Linked DNA regions of Homo sapiens: all the other regions are linked to region 3. Evidence: promoter capture Hi-C in 16 types of primary human blood cells and fetal thymus (Javierre and others, 2016). All regions are on one chromosome and are shown on one strand. Each heading gives the region's core, a stretch centred on a gene start or on the middle of the fragment in contact. The rest is flanking DNA. Distances are from core to core; before and after follow the strand shown.

Region 1 (4,456 bases), core at 1,945-4,444, 170 kb after region 3:
GCCCCAGCTACAAGAGTCGCTGCACTCCAAGAATATGCCCTTCTAAAATACGTATTGATAGTCTTCCCAGTCCACATGCAGGCTATCAATCAGGGATCATTTTCACCACAAGCAATGTACCCTGGTAACATGACTTACATACAGGTTGTATCAAGTAACCATGGGAACAAAACTGGAGAGTTAACTGAAGGTCAAATTCTCATGCAAAAGGAGTTTTAAAAAGTCATAACACTTACCCCACAGTAATCTTCAATGATGACAATTATTTAACTACTATGGCCTTGTTAGATATATCCGGAACCCCAATACCCTTCCAAATCCCAACTTCCACCTTTCTTAATAGTAGATCATCATCAAGAAATGGGAAGAATATGAGAACTATTTTTTGTTTAAAATAAGTTTCAACAGACCAAGGTTTGTTTCATTGATTTTAAGGAAGAAGAAACTAAGATAGGTGGAGTAAAACAATTTACCTTAGTGCCCTTTAAAAAGCCAGTGGCATGTCTAAAGTCTTGAGGCTGTAGGTATGTAACAGTGAAGTCCCACTTCTTTTTTGAGGAATTCTTTCTTACTGATCATGGCTTGTTCAAACTGAAAAATACAGTTTTCAAATCCAATGGAAATTTTCATTTTATTGTTTTCATCTCCTGTTTGCAGAATGATGGAATAGTGTGCTATTGTTTGAGAGTTATGTAGGCTCTGAAGACCCAGGATTAAACATTAGCTGTTGTACAAACATCATTATGTAGATGACATAAATTAAGATTGCATCTTTGGCTAAAAATAACTTATTTTCTATTATTTTTAGATTCTTTAGCTGAGAAAGAGATTACTGTTTCCTCCTAAAAAATTAAGTCTGTGAAGATTTGCAGAGACAGACTCATCCTAAGGTTGTACAGCCTTCTTTGAACTTCTGATGTATGTTAGTACATAGTATTCTCTATGGACCTGAGATCTTATGAAAGACCAGGCTATTATAAAACTTTAAAAAAAAAAAACTCCCTTATCATGTAATATGAAGAGGCATATAAGCTGAGATTTTGACTTTTTTTTTTTTTTTTAACATTTATCAGGCATCATGCGCTATGTCCCAAGTAATGCCGTGGGTGCCTACTGCTTTCATTTACTCTTTATGACTCTATAAAGCAAACATTGTCCTCATTTACAGAGAAGAAAGGTGTAAGAATTTAAACTGAGTTAAGTGACTTCATGAAGATTGTTCATTCCAAACCTGAATCACTGTCTAATTTCTGTAATATTCAGAAATAAAGAGTATCGTGGATCCAGCTTACATAAGGGTAAAGAAGGCATATTACTCCATGTAATTAGACTTCAGAAATGCCTGGGCACATCTCCATACCCCTCCCACAACTTTTCTACATCTGTCCTATGACTGTCTGGCATTCCTAAGTTAGAAATATATATTTTGCTTAAATCAAACAGGAACTAGTAAAATGCAAATGCTTTGAGTGAGCCATAAAGCAGTGTTAAATTTTTGTACAGCTAATATTTTACAATATAAATGAGAATATCATGTATTTTCTTCAAAGTAAGTTTCTAAAGGGATCTAAGGCAGATTATTATGTGCCTCTATATTGGGATAGAGGTACCCAGACATGGTAAGACTGGGGAGGAGGGGTGCAAAACATCTACTGCTTTAATTTGTGACAGTTTATCTGACTTTTCTTCTGCCTTTCCACAAGTCTGTGAGCACTGACATCAAGGACTTTTGTATAGCTCTGTATAGCACAGTGCTTAATAAACTTGACCCTGGAGTCAGACTGCCTGGACTGGTAATTCTGGCTCCAACACTTAGCTGTGTGACTGTGGGCAAATGACTTTACTGCTCTCTGCCTCAGTTTCTTCATCCTTCAAACTGTACCCATCTCATAGGATTATTATGAAGATTCAGTGACACAGGTTCAAAATTGTAATATGCTTTACAGCAGTTCCTAACACATCAGAAGTGCTATATTTAAGCAGTAGCATTTAGTATCAGCACAGGGTCATACACATATTAGGTCCTCAGAAAATGTTGATTGGCTTAGTTAAGTTGCCCATGTGTACTGAATTAACTAATTGAATTTTTGAAAGCCTGGATGTAAGAATCAGGAGGATATTTGTGACTTTTAAAAGTAAAATATTAAGGAGAGTCAGAGGGAGTTAGATAAAAAGTGTTAGTGAGTGGATGTTTTAAACAATGAATCAGTGGGATATAAGTTTTAATTGTTACTAATTTTTATTTTAATTCTGATGTGCTCAGAAAACATTCTGTGTATCACTCCAATCTTTTTCAATGTATGGAGACTTATTTTATGGCCCAGCATATGGTCTATGTTGGTGAATGTTTCAGGTGTCTTGAAAACATGGTGTGTCCTGTAGTTGTTGGATGTAGGTTTTATGGATGTCAAGATGGTCAAAAGGGGTGTTCAAATCTTCTATGTCCTTACTGAAATGTGTCTGCTGTTTTATCAATTATTGAGAGAAAGGTGTTAAAAACTATGAGGATTTGTCTCTCTTTAGTTCTGTCACTTTTGTTTCATGTATGTTAAAGCTCTGTTATTAGGTGCATGTGTATTCAGAATTTTTGTTTTTCATGATGAATTGATCCTTTTGTCATTATCAAATTGTCCTATTTGTCCTTGGTCTTATAGTATGCTTTGACTCATGCTAGTGTAGCCATAAGCTTTCTTATGCTTACTGTTTATATGGTACATCTTTTTCATCAGTTTTTTACCTTATGTATGTATTTATATCTTTATATTTAAAATGTATCCCTTATAAACAACATATAGGTAAGTACTGTTTTCCTACCCCATTTTACAATCTCTGGTGTTTAATTGGAATGTTTTATTCATTTACATTTATTGTAATAATTAGATACTCAGGTTTTAGTCTACCTTCATGCTATTCTTTTGTCTCCTCTGGATTTTGTTCTTCTGTTTCTCCTTTTTTGCCTTTAAATAAAGTAAAGTTATGACATTTTATCTTCTCTGTTGGCTTTTTAGCTCTACCTCTTAGTATTATTTTTGAATACTTTTTTTTTTGGGTTTTTTTGAGACAGAGTCTTGCTCTGTCACCCAGGCTGGAGTGCAATGATGCAATCTCAGCTCACTGCAACCTCTGCCTCCTGGGTTCAAGCAGTTTTCCTGCCTCAGTCTCCCAAGTAGCTGGGATTACAGGCACCTGCCACCAGGCCCAGCTAATTTTTTGTATATTTAGTAGAGATGGGGTTTCACCATGTTGGCCAGGCTGGTCTGGAACTCCTGACCTCAGGTGACCCACCCGCCTCAGTCTCCCAAAGTGCTGGGATTACAGGAGTGAGCCACCAGGCCTGGCCTTGAATACTTTTTTTTTTTTTTTTTTTTAGTAATTAAAATATAAATCGTTAACTTATCACAGTTTTCCTTGCATTCATATTTATACAAATTCCCTTATATCTTTTGTGCTATTATTGTCAGAGATTTTATTTCTACCCATTTAAAATGTGTAACACATTTTTATTTTTGTTTCAAAATGTCAATAGTCTTTTAAAGAAATAAAAGGGAAGAAGAACCTTTTATAAAATTAATGTATTTGCCATTTTCAGTGCTCTTTTTTTCTCTCCTCTAGATCCAGATTTCTATCTGGTAGCATTTTCCTTCAACCTGAAGGATATTCCTTAGTGTTTCTTATACTTCAGATCTGCTGGGGACAAACTCTCCAAGCTTCTTTTTCACTGAGAATGTCTTTATTTTGTCCCTGTTTTTGAAGGATTTTTCTCTGGATAAAAAATCATTATTTAGTTTTTTTTCTTCTTCTTGCAGCACTTTGAAGATGGCATCTTATTGCCCTTTTGCCTCCATTGTTTATGATGTAAAGTTAGCTCTCATTTTTATCATCATTCTTCTATATGTAACAAACCTTTTCCTCTGGAAAGTTTTAACATTTTTTTCTTTATCTTTGACTTCTAGCAATTTGGTTTTTGTTGTTGTTGTTGTTGTTTGTTGTTGTTTGAGATGGAGCTTCACTCTTGTCACCCAGGCTGGAGGGCAATGGCGCCATCTCCGCTCCCTGCAACCTCCCCCTCCCAGGTTCAAGCAATTCTCCTGCCTCAGTCTCCTGAGTAGCTGGGATTACAGGCGCAAGCCACCATGCCTGGCTAATTTTTGTATTTTTGTAGGGATAGGGTTTCACCATGTTGGCCAGGCTGGTCTCGAACTCCTGACGTTAAGTGCTCCTCCCACCTCAGCCTCCGAAAGTGCTGGGACTACAGGCGTGAGTCACTGTGCCCAGTCAGGTTTCTAGCAATCTGAATGATGTGTTTGAGGGTAGTTTTCTTTAAATTTATCTTGCCTGGATTTTGATGAGCTGAGCTTTATGGATCTTTTGGTTGTTGTTTTTCATTAAGTATAGAATTTGGGGGACATTATTTCTTAAAATATTTTATGTGCCATATTTACTCTCTCCTGGGACT
Region 2 (4,390 bases), core at 1,436-3,935, 240 kb after region 3:
TTTAAATTTTTTTAATGATGCAGAGAAGACATTCTGGACATAACATTATCTTGCAGTTATTAATATCTATATGATAAAATTTACTAGTACCTTCCTCGTTCTTTTCCTTAACTATCCCTACTCCCCACATCTCTTAGTTTTCTCCCATCCATCCCAAACCTTCATTAAGGATGGATCCTCTGGTAGTTAGGTTAACCTCGAATTAATTGCTTTACCATTTGATGTGTATGTAGACAACTATTCTTTTTTAGAAACCGCCTCCTTTAAGGTTCAGCCAAGCTTCTACTCTGTCTAACTCAGTGCTGGATCTAGCTGAACGGTCAGAATTGCATGCTGAGCTAACTTCTGACAGACAGTTGGATGGTCTGTCACTTTATGAGTGTTCTGGAAAGATCATCCAAGCATGAGAAGGGCTCTGCACAGATGCTTGCACAGTTAGCAGGAAGTCTGCACTTCCTAAGAGTATAGCTCAATATCTCCTTTGGGAGCGTCACCTTTAGTTTCATTCTTTGCTCTTTTCCAGAAATAAATCTTGATATGTGTTCTCACCATGACTTCACTCAAGGGTTGTTGAGGATTCTGTTCATCTAGGACTAGGTGTGAGGCTGACAGCTGAATTTTCTGTGGGGCATCTCTGCTTCCTAATGCACCTGAAGAAGATAGTCAGCACTGTCCCCTTCTTTGGTGCAGGGGTTCGGAGTCTGTTTTCTCCCTCATTTTGTGCTCCTGTGGTCTTTTTAGGCAGAGAAACTCTTTGGCATGTAGTTTTTTCTCTTTAATATTGCCCTATATCAGAATTGGGCTTTTTTCATATCTTTATTTCAAATATTAAAAGACATGAGCTTCCTGTTCACATCTTCCTAACCGTCTCTCAAATGTCATCTTCCTTCTGCTTCTCTTCCAATGGCTATTGACTCTGATTTCATTCTGGTTTTCTGAGCATATCTTCCTCACTTTGCTATCATTTTTTTTTAGATTCCCAGCACAAGAGGGATTCTTTAAATTCAAATTTATATCTATTTAGTGAATATTTTTGCCTCCAGGAAGTGATTTAGAGCAGTGCAACTTTCTGAAAGATTCAGTGAAACAAAGCAACAGGAAAGTCGTAAGAACAGAGACTGGGACATGGAGTGGGAGCTGAAGGTGGGCGGCAGTAGAAGAGGGAGGTGGAAAATAAGAAATGACTCATCGTGGCTAATGACCAAGCAAGTGTTTTCCTAAGAATGCCAGTTTGGCCCTTTCCTTATTTGAGCCTTCTACCCCCTTTCTCCTTGACCCACTCGGGATATGCTGCCAGGGTTAGAGCAATGACCTCGAGGTCTTTACCATTTCAAAAAGGGGCTTTTCTTCCAGCACAGGATCAGGCGGCCTTCCAGGCAGCTGGCAGGATCCTGTTCCAAGGGGACTCTTCCATTATATTCCATTCTTGGCTCAGCCTTGTGGAGCATGGGTCAGCACTGTGCTGTGGTCTCTGGGGGAAGCAAGGAAAGCTCAGAGCCCCATAGAGACCTTGTAACACTCCTTCCACTTGGCATCACTTCTGGCCTCTGAATACATTTCCCTTCAAAGGGTCCATTGCTCATCTCCCCAAGTTCCTCCATTTCCACGTATGGAGAAGCAAGCAGCGCATGGGTGGAAAGTCGTCATGGTACCACGGGGGCCATCGGCATAGCAGAGCTGGGGGCAAAAGTCACCCATGAGTCACATTGTCCTGTGCACTTGGCAATGTGGTTACATTTCACTGGAGTCACTATGCTAGAGATTTTAAATAAGTCTCCATGCGGTAGTATTCAACCTAGCTACCTTCATTTCAATTTGAAAGGAACTGAAATTAAAATGGCTTAGGCTCTATGGCAGGCCAAGATATGGCTGTGTTCCCACTGGATGTCAGGGTTTCTTTGGGACGTTGTGTGGGCAGGGCTTTGGCACCTTAGACTGTGAAGCTGCACAATAAGGAAGAGCATGTGGAGAACACATAACTGTCATACACCATCCAAATAACTGTGGGGGAAGGGCGGTAGAAAGGCCCTGATTTTCCTGGGCTTCCATGTGCCTGCTTAGTAAGCATATTCTTGCCTTGCTTGGCACGGGCTTTCCTTAAATGCATTCTCTGTGCTTCCCCTCCCTGGGCGCTAGTGACAATACCCAGCAGAAAGAGGTTTGGGGCTCTGTTTCTCAACAATGTAAGGGCACTGAATCATCTCGCCAGCCCTTGCCTGCTACAGGTGTTATGTGACAGAGTAGGTGGCAAATGGTAGCCTGAGATAGCGGTTCAGGATCTGTGTGGTGGCATAGGAGTTGGGAAGGCTGAGGGAGTGGTGGAGACAGTCATCTGTTTTCTATGGGACTGGGGCAGAGGGCGAGGAAGCAGGGTATTCATCTGATCCTTTCCATATGTTGGAGAATCTGAAAAAGGAGAAAAAGAGGCTCTTGGGAAGAGCACTGCTGGGGCTTTAGTCATGTGTTTTGGGAGGACACTGGGTGTGCTGGGCCGTGAGTCATTTGGTAATGACGAGCTTCCCAGTCCACATTTTCTGTCAGGTTGCATTAGCTTGTGACAGTTATGACTACTAAATTAGGGGCCACTGGACAGCTGCAGGTGCGTGCTAACATCCTTAGCAGCCTGCCATTAGCAGGAAGATGGCAGGTGCCCCAGTGCATCTTGTATGTGCATAAGATGGAGGTGTGATTGAGCCTTGCTGAAAGGTGACCAAGTCCAAGAACCAACCAGCTGCAGTTATTGGCCGGGCCTGGCTCAAATGGAATCAGACTGAAGACTTTGAGCAGGCTATACAAATCACATAGAATAAGGAGCAAGGAGCAGGATGTGATCTTGATCAAGGTCCTCCTTCCCCCAACTTCAGCAGCTGATGCAACTCAAATTGGAGAGCTAGGATGTAGTATTACTTCCAAAATACAGCATCCCAGCCTTATCCCTTTGATCTGAGAGTGGTGTTGTGTAAGACAAAGCCTGGCTTCAAAGTTAGCCTAGATCGGGCCTTGATTCTCATCTGCTCTCTGTGAGACCTGGAACACAATTCTTCATCAATTTGCACCTCATTTGAAGTCTGTCATAAAAGATCATTCAGACCTGACTGCTGCCTGCCCTTCCATTGCGTCTCTTGCCACTTGCCTGAGGTTGCCTTGAGCTCCGGCATACTATTTATCAGTCTTGGAACATATTTGTTTTTTTCTAACCACCACCAAACTTGTGCCTGAACGCCTTTTGCCCCTCTGCACTCTACCACAGTGAGCGCCTTCTCATGCTTTCAGGCGAGTGTCAAGTGCTCTTTGTGAGAGGAAAACCTGCTCATGCATTATTAAGGCCATCACTTCCTTGACTGGGAGGCCCTGGATGACAAGGACCACACATACCCCACCCTGCTTTATTTTTGCATCCCAGAACGTCTTGTAGTAAGTTTGAAAAATGCTTGCTGAAGGGTTACATCAGTGTGGTCATACCTTGAAATAGAGTGAAATCCATTTCATTCTAACCTCCATTATCTTTTTTTTTTTTTTTTTTTTTGAGGTGGAGTCTCGTTCTGTTGCCCAGGCTGGAGGTACAGTGGTGCGATCTCGACTCACTGCAAGCTCCGCCTCCCGGCTTCACGCCATTCTCCTGCCTCAGCCTCCCGAGTAGCTGGGACTACAGGCACCCACCACCACACCGGGCTAATTTTTTTGTATTTTTAGTAGAGACGGGGTTTCACTATGTTAGCCAGGACGGTCTCGATCTCCTGACCTCGTGATCCGCCCGCCTCGGCCTCCCAAAGTGCTGGGATTACAGGCGTGAGCCACTGTGCCTGGCCAACCTCCATTATCTTTACAGAAACATCCTGCCATCCTTGTGTAATCATTTTGCTACTGTAATCTCTTCCCAGTACACACCCAATGAGAGAGATTCATTTTATTTTGAACATCTAAGTCAAATTTCTATGAACTTGATTTCACATCATTTTTCCATGGTCTTGACATTGCAAGGCCATTCCCACAAGGATTTCAGATAATGTGATTTAATATTTACTCCTGCACGGCAGTATTGTCTGTTTAGATGTCATGACTCAATGTCAGTTTACAGCATTGAATTTTTTTCAGGGAAGGGTGAATTAATAATGTTAAAGCAGGCCATATATATAGCCGCTTTTTGTAAAGCCACTTTAGAAGTGCTTTAAATAGCCACTTTAAATGACTACACCATACATCTTGAATGATTGGGATAGATTCTCGAATGTTGCCTATTTCATAGTGTAAGGGTATAGAGCTATCACTGTTCCCAATTAGAGGAAATTTTTTCTCACAGTATAAAAACATTAAATTCAGTTTAGTAAACATTTGTGAAACATCTATGTGCTAAGCATGGTGTTCTTGGCCAAATGTGACTTCCCTGCCT
Region 3 (4,048 bases), core at 1,239-3,738:
CTTAGGTAAGTTCTTGATCATTAAATAAGCATAATCAAAAGTATGAAAGTTAATCCAACAGGGCCTCTATTAGTATTCTGAAGGTATGCCATATTAAGCATAATCAAAAGTATGAAAGTTAATCCAAGAGGGCCTCTATTAGTATTCTGAAGGTATGCCATATCACAGGTTAGTAATAATTAGCACCTTGCCTGGCATACTCTAGCTTTAAAAATACCTTAAAGGTTCACATATAGAGACATCAATACATGATTGGGTATTACAATTGGAAGGAACACACACACACCCACCCACACACACACACACACACACACATATTTTTGAGACAGAGTCTCGCTCTTGTTGCCCAGGCTGGAGTGCAATGGCATGATCTCGGCTCACGGCAATCTTCACCTCCCGGGTTCAAGCGATTCTCCTGCCTCAGCCTCCCAAGTAGCTGGGATTACAGGCATGCACCACCACGACCGGCTAATTTTGTATTTTTTTTTTTTTTTTAGTAGAAATGGGGTTTCTCCATGTTGGTCAGGCTGGTCTCGAACTGCCGACCTCAGGTGATCCACCCGCCTTGGCCTCCCAAAGTGTTGAGATTATAGGCGTGAGCCACCGTGCCCACAGGTACTCAAGCACTTGCATGTGATCAAGATGGAGAAGAGCTGACTTTTGCAGTTCACGTGGGAGGAAAAAAGTAAATCTAGAAATTCTAGTTAACTCCAAACACAGTGAGTGTCATTAGTGTTTCTCCAGAAGCCAATCCAATATTAGGCTGCACATAAAGACTGTCCAAAACAAGGACGGAGAGCACAACAATTCAGGAAGAAGACCACCTGGAATGCTCATATGGCCATCAAAGATGACATAGGCTCTGGAAACTATACTACAGGGAAAGTTGGGGCTAAGAAGAACCTTGAGCCAGGAGAAGAAAAGAGTGGATGGTGGGCCATAGAGGCAAGCATGGCAGATGCCTTCTAAGAGGTGAAGGGCCACAATGTACAGATGGTTTGACTTATTCTAGGCGGGTTTCAGAAGAGGCACAAGGCCCAAGCTGAAGCCTAGAAGGTAGCAGTTTGAGTACAATACAAGAAAAAAACATTTTTCTTTGCATTTCTGATGTTCATCAGAACATATGGGACGGAAGCTCAGGAAAGAGATCTTAAGGTAGCATCAAGAGATAGATGTCGTCCACAAGGAGGCGGTATATGAAGCTGTGAAATGGCTTGGGGTTTCCAGTGTCTTCCACCATCATCAGCCCAGAATTACCACCTTCCCAGTTGCACTTCCTCCTAAATCTACATCTCTGGTGCCTTTTGCCTTGAACAGTCTCTTGCCTTGGAGCTTCTCGGCCATCAAACAGAAGGGGGCACCCTGCACCGTCAGTCAAGGCAAGGACCAATCTGGCAATCCCCAACCATGGAAAAGGACCTAAGGCTGGGTGGGATGTAGGAGCCTTCCAGGACCTGGAAGGGAGCCTCCTGTAACTACTCTCTACTCCCTTTAGAGTCCACAGGGCTGGAACTCTAAATGCAGAATAAGGTTAGGGGTGGGCAGAGAGGAAGGGTTGTGATGCCACCTGACTTCCAAATTGAGGGTGGCACAGGATCCCCCAGAAGCTCCCTGGGGTACAGAAGTCACAGCAACCCTGGACAATCCAGGGGTTTGGTAAAGTGTACTTACCAATTTTGAAGAGGGGAAGGGGTTCTCTTAAGGTGTAGAAAGGACTATCCAGGGAGTTGCAAACTTTGTTGTAAGTGGACAATCACCCTCGCTCCTCACTGCACCGTCTTCTCCTTGCCCAACAATGCACGCGGGTCCTAGCAAGGTATTCGAGTCCAGATCTCTCTCTCTCTCTCTCTCTCTCTCTCTGTCTCTGTCTCTCTCTCTTTCCTCTCTCTGTCTCTCTGTCTCTGTCTCTCTCTTTCCTCTCTCTCTCTCTCTGTCTCTGTCTCTCTCTTTCCTCTCTCTCTCTCTCTATCTCTGTCACACACACACACACACACACACACACACACACACACACACAGGCAAAGTGGGCAAAGCGGGCAAAGCGAGCAAAGCGAGAGGGTTGGTACCCAGTCTGGGCGCGCTGGAGCTAAGCAACTGGCCTTTGTTTGTGAATTGGAGCAGTTTAGGGGACATCCTCCGGTCGCCGCGGGGCGCGCGCCTCCGCTGAGTGTGCGGTGCGGTACCCAGCGGTGCGGGGGAGGCTCCACCGCGCCAGCCCAGGGCCCCCGCACCGCCCCCGCCAGCTCGACGCGCCCAGCGTTGCGCTCTCCACGGAGCGGGCGGCCGCAGCGCACTTGGCTGGGGCGAGAGGCGAGAGGGGTGGGCGGACTGCTTGGTTGGCGTTGGCGCTCTGCAGTGCAGTGGAGTGTTAGCCCAGCTCCCTATATGGTCGGGGATTAGCTTGGCGCTGCTGAGGCTGAGGCTGAGCCAGGAGCTGGAGGAGGAGGTGGAGGACGAGGACGAAAAGGAGGAGGAGAAAGAGCGCAGCAGCAGTCAGCGCACGCCGAGCGGCTGCCGGGGGAAGCAGAGGCGCCGGAGGCTGGGGCACCGCCGACGCCTCGGGAGCCATGGCCGAAGGGGGAGAAGGAGGCGAGGACGAGATCCAGTTTCTGAGGACTGTGAGTCTCCGCGGCGGGGGCGAGGCCGTGGGCAGGTGGGGAGGAGCGCGGAGCGCGGCGAGGAGGGGCTGGCTGCGCTGCGCCGCGGTGCCGGGTGCCCGGTGCCGGGCGCTTTCTCCGCACCCGCGGGCTGCAGAGGCGGACCGGCCACCTACCCGCGGGGCCGCGAGGGGCTGCGTGGGAAGGGGCACCATCTCCTGCCTCTCCCTTGTTCCCCTACCGCCACCCCTGCCCCAGGCCCTCCACCTAGGACCGCTCGCTCTCCAGGCAACTTGCTACTTGGTCTGAAACCCTTGATGCCCAAACTTCAGCCGGGGTTTGTTCGCGGTTGTCCTGACCCATAAGATCGGCGTTGGAAGCCCTCGCCCCGGGGTCGGCCCTCTGACACCTCCATACTCCACCCCAGCCCCATTCCTCTTCCAGGGCGCCCCCACGCACAGGGGAACCTCCGGGAAGGAGCCAGCGGGGCAGGGGGGAGTGTGGGGAGCCGGGTCGGAGAAGCGGGCGCAGGCGCTTGGTCCTAGCCCTGGGATCGCTCGGAGGGGAATTCACCCAGCGCTGCCCCTCTCGTGTTAAGCCCCACGCCGGCAACTGCTGCTGGAGCCTGACTTGACTGACTGCCTGTCGTGTGTTCGAGAGCTGTGGCTTCTGCTCCTGGCTCCCGCGAGCCCCGCAGGACAGGGAAACCCCAGTCAGTGGCTCCGCGTCACTCAGGTCCCCTCCTTGACACCTGAGGGCGCTGCTCCGTCCCAGATTTGGGGGTGAGGGGGCGAAGTCTGTTGCAGCCACACCAGCCTTGCCCTGTAGGAGATAATACAAAGACTTTCAGGGTGGACGGCCACCCGGAGGGGTGGGGGCATTGGGGATGCATCCTAGCGCTGACTTCAGCCAAGTGACCTTGAGCAAGTCGCATAATCCGCCCTACTCAGCCTCAGTTTCCTCATGTGTAAAATAAAATGTAACCAGCGTTTCAGGGTGATAAGGATTAAACGTTATCGTGAATGTCATAATGTTTTGTAAACGGCAAATCGCTCTGTAAATCTTAGGTAATTTTATATGCGCTGCCTTGCTCTCAGGAATTAGAATGAAATTCTTTCTTTCCCTCTCTCACTTCCCTTTAAGGGTGCCCCCTTCTCCATGACCTGGTCTTCGAAGATCACAACTTACCTCTTGTCCATCTTTTGAACCACTCTCCTCCTGTTGAAGCGCTTCCTTCCAATTTACTTCAGTTTCTCTTCCAAACATGGTTCTTTTGTCAAAGCTGGGACTTGGGTCTTATTTGGGGGGGGTATGGAAGTACCTATCGCCCTGCTGGTACTACTGAGAGGCTAGAGTATTCATCTCTTCATCCTTCGTCTGACCTGCAGACCCAGACTCCATTCTCATCTCTCACACTGCACACAAGATGGCCCCACAGTTGCAACTCATGA

Evidence for each region. The method cuts DNA at HindIII sites, captures the fragments that hold promoters and counts their contacts. A CHiCAGO score of 5 or more calls a contact.
Region 1: a contact is called between a fragment that was not itself captured here and the fragment with the promoter of RYR3 in region 3, in 2 of 17 cell types (megakaryocytes and erythroblasts). The highest score is 5.8, in megakaryocytes.
Region 2: a fragment that was not itself captured here is called in contact with the fragment with the promoter of RYR3 in region 3 in 2 of 17 cell types (erythroblasts and megakaryocytes); the score reaches 7.3 in erythroblasts.

Annotation. Positions count from the first base shown.
Region 1 is chr15:33,478,442-33,482,897 of GRCh38, forward strand. The region is part of intron 2 of RYR3 (ryanodine receptor 3); the gene reads left to right. Among named protein-coding and RNA genes, the nearest start is that of RYR3, 170 kb to the left of the region's middle. The HindIII fragment of the contact is 1,021 bases long and covers 2,685-3,705 here.
Region 2 is chr15:33,550,787-33,555,176 of GRCh38, forward strand. The region is part of intron 10 of RYR3 (ryanodine receptor 3); the gene reads left to right. Among named protein-coding and RNA genes, the nearest start is that of RYR3, 240 kb to the left of the region's middle. The HindIII fragment of the contact is 4,816 bases long and covers 278-4,390 here.
Region 3 is chr15:33,308,479-33,312,526 of GRCh38, forward strand. It overlaps RYR3 (ryanodine receptor 3), which reads left to right and starts at 2,489. Exons shown (of 104, transcript NM_001036.6): 1 at 2,489-2,618. The coding sequence starts at 2,568. It overlaps RYR3-DT (RYR3 divergent transcript), which reads right to left and starts at 2,181. Exons shown (of 3, transcript NR_120327.1): 1 at 2,100-2,181. RefSeq lists enhancers at 2,710-3,221, 3,222-3,731. The HindIII fragment of the contact is 6,631 bases long and covers 1-4,048 here.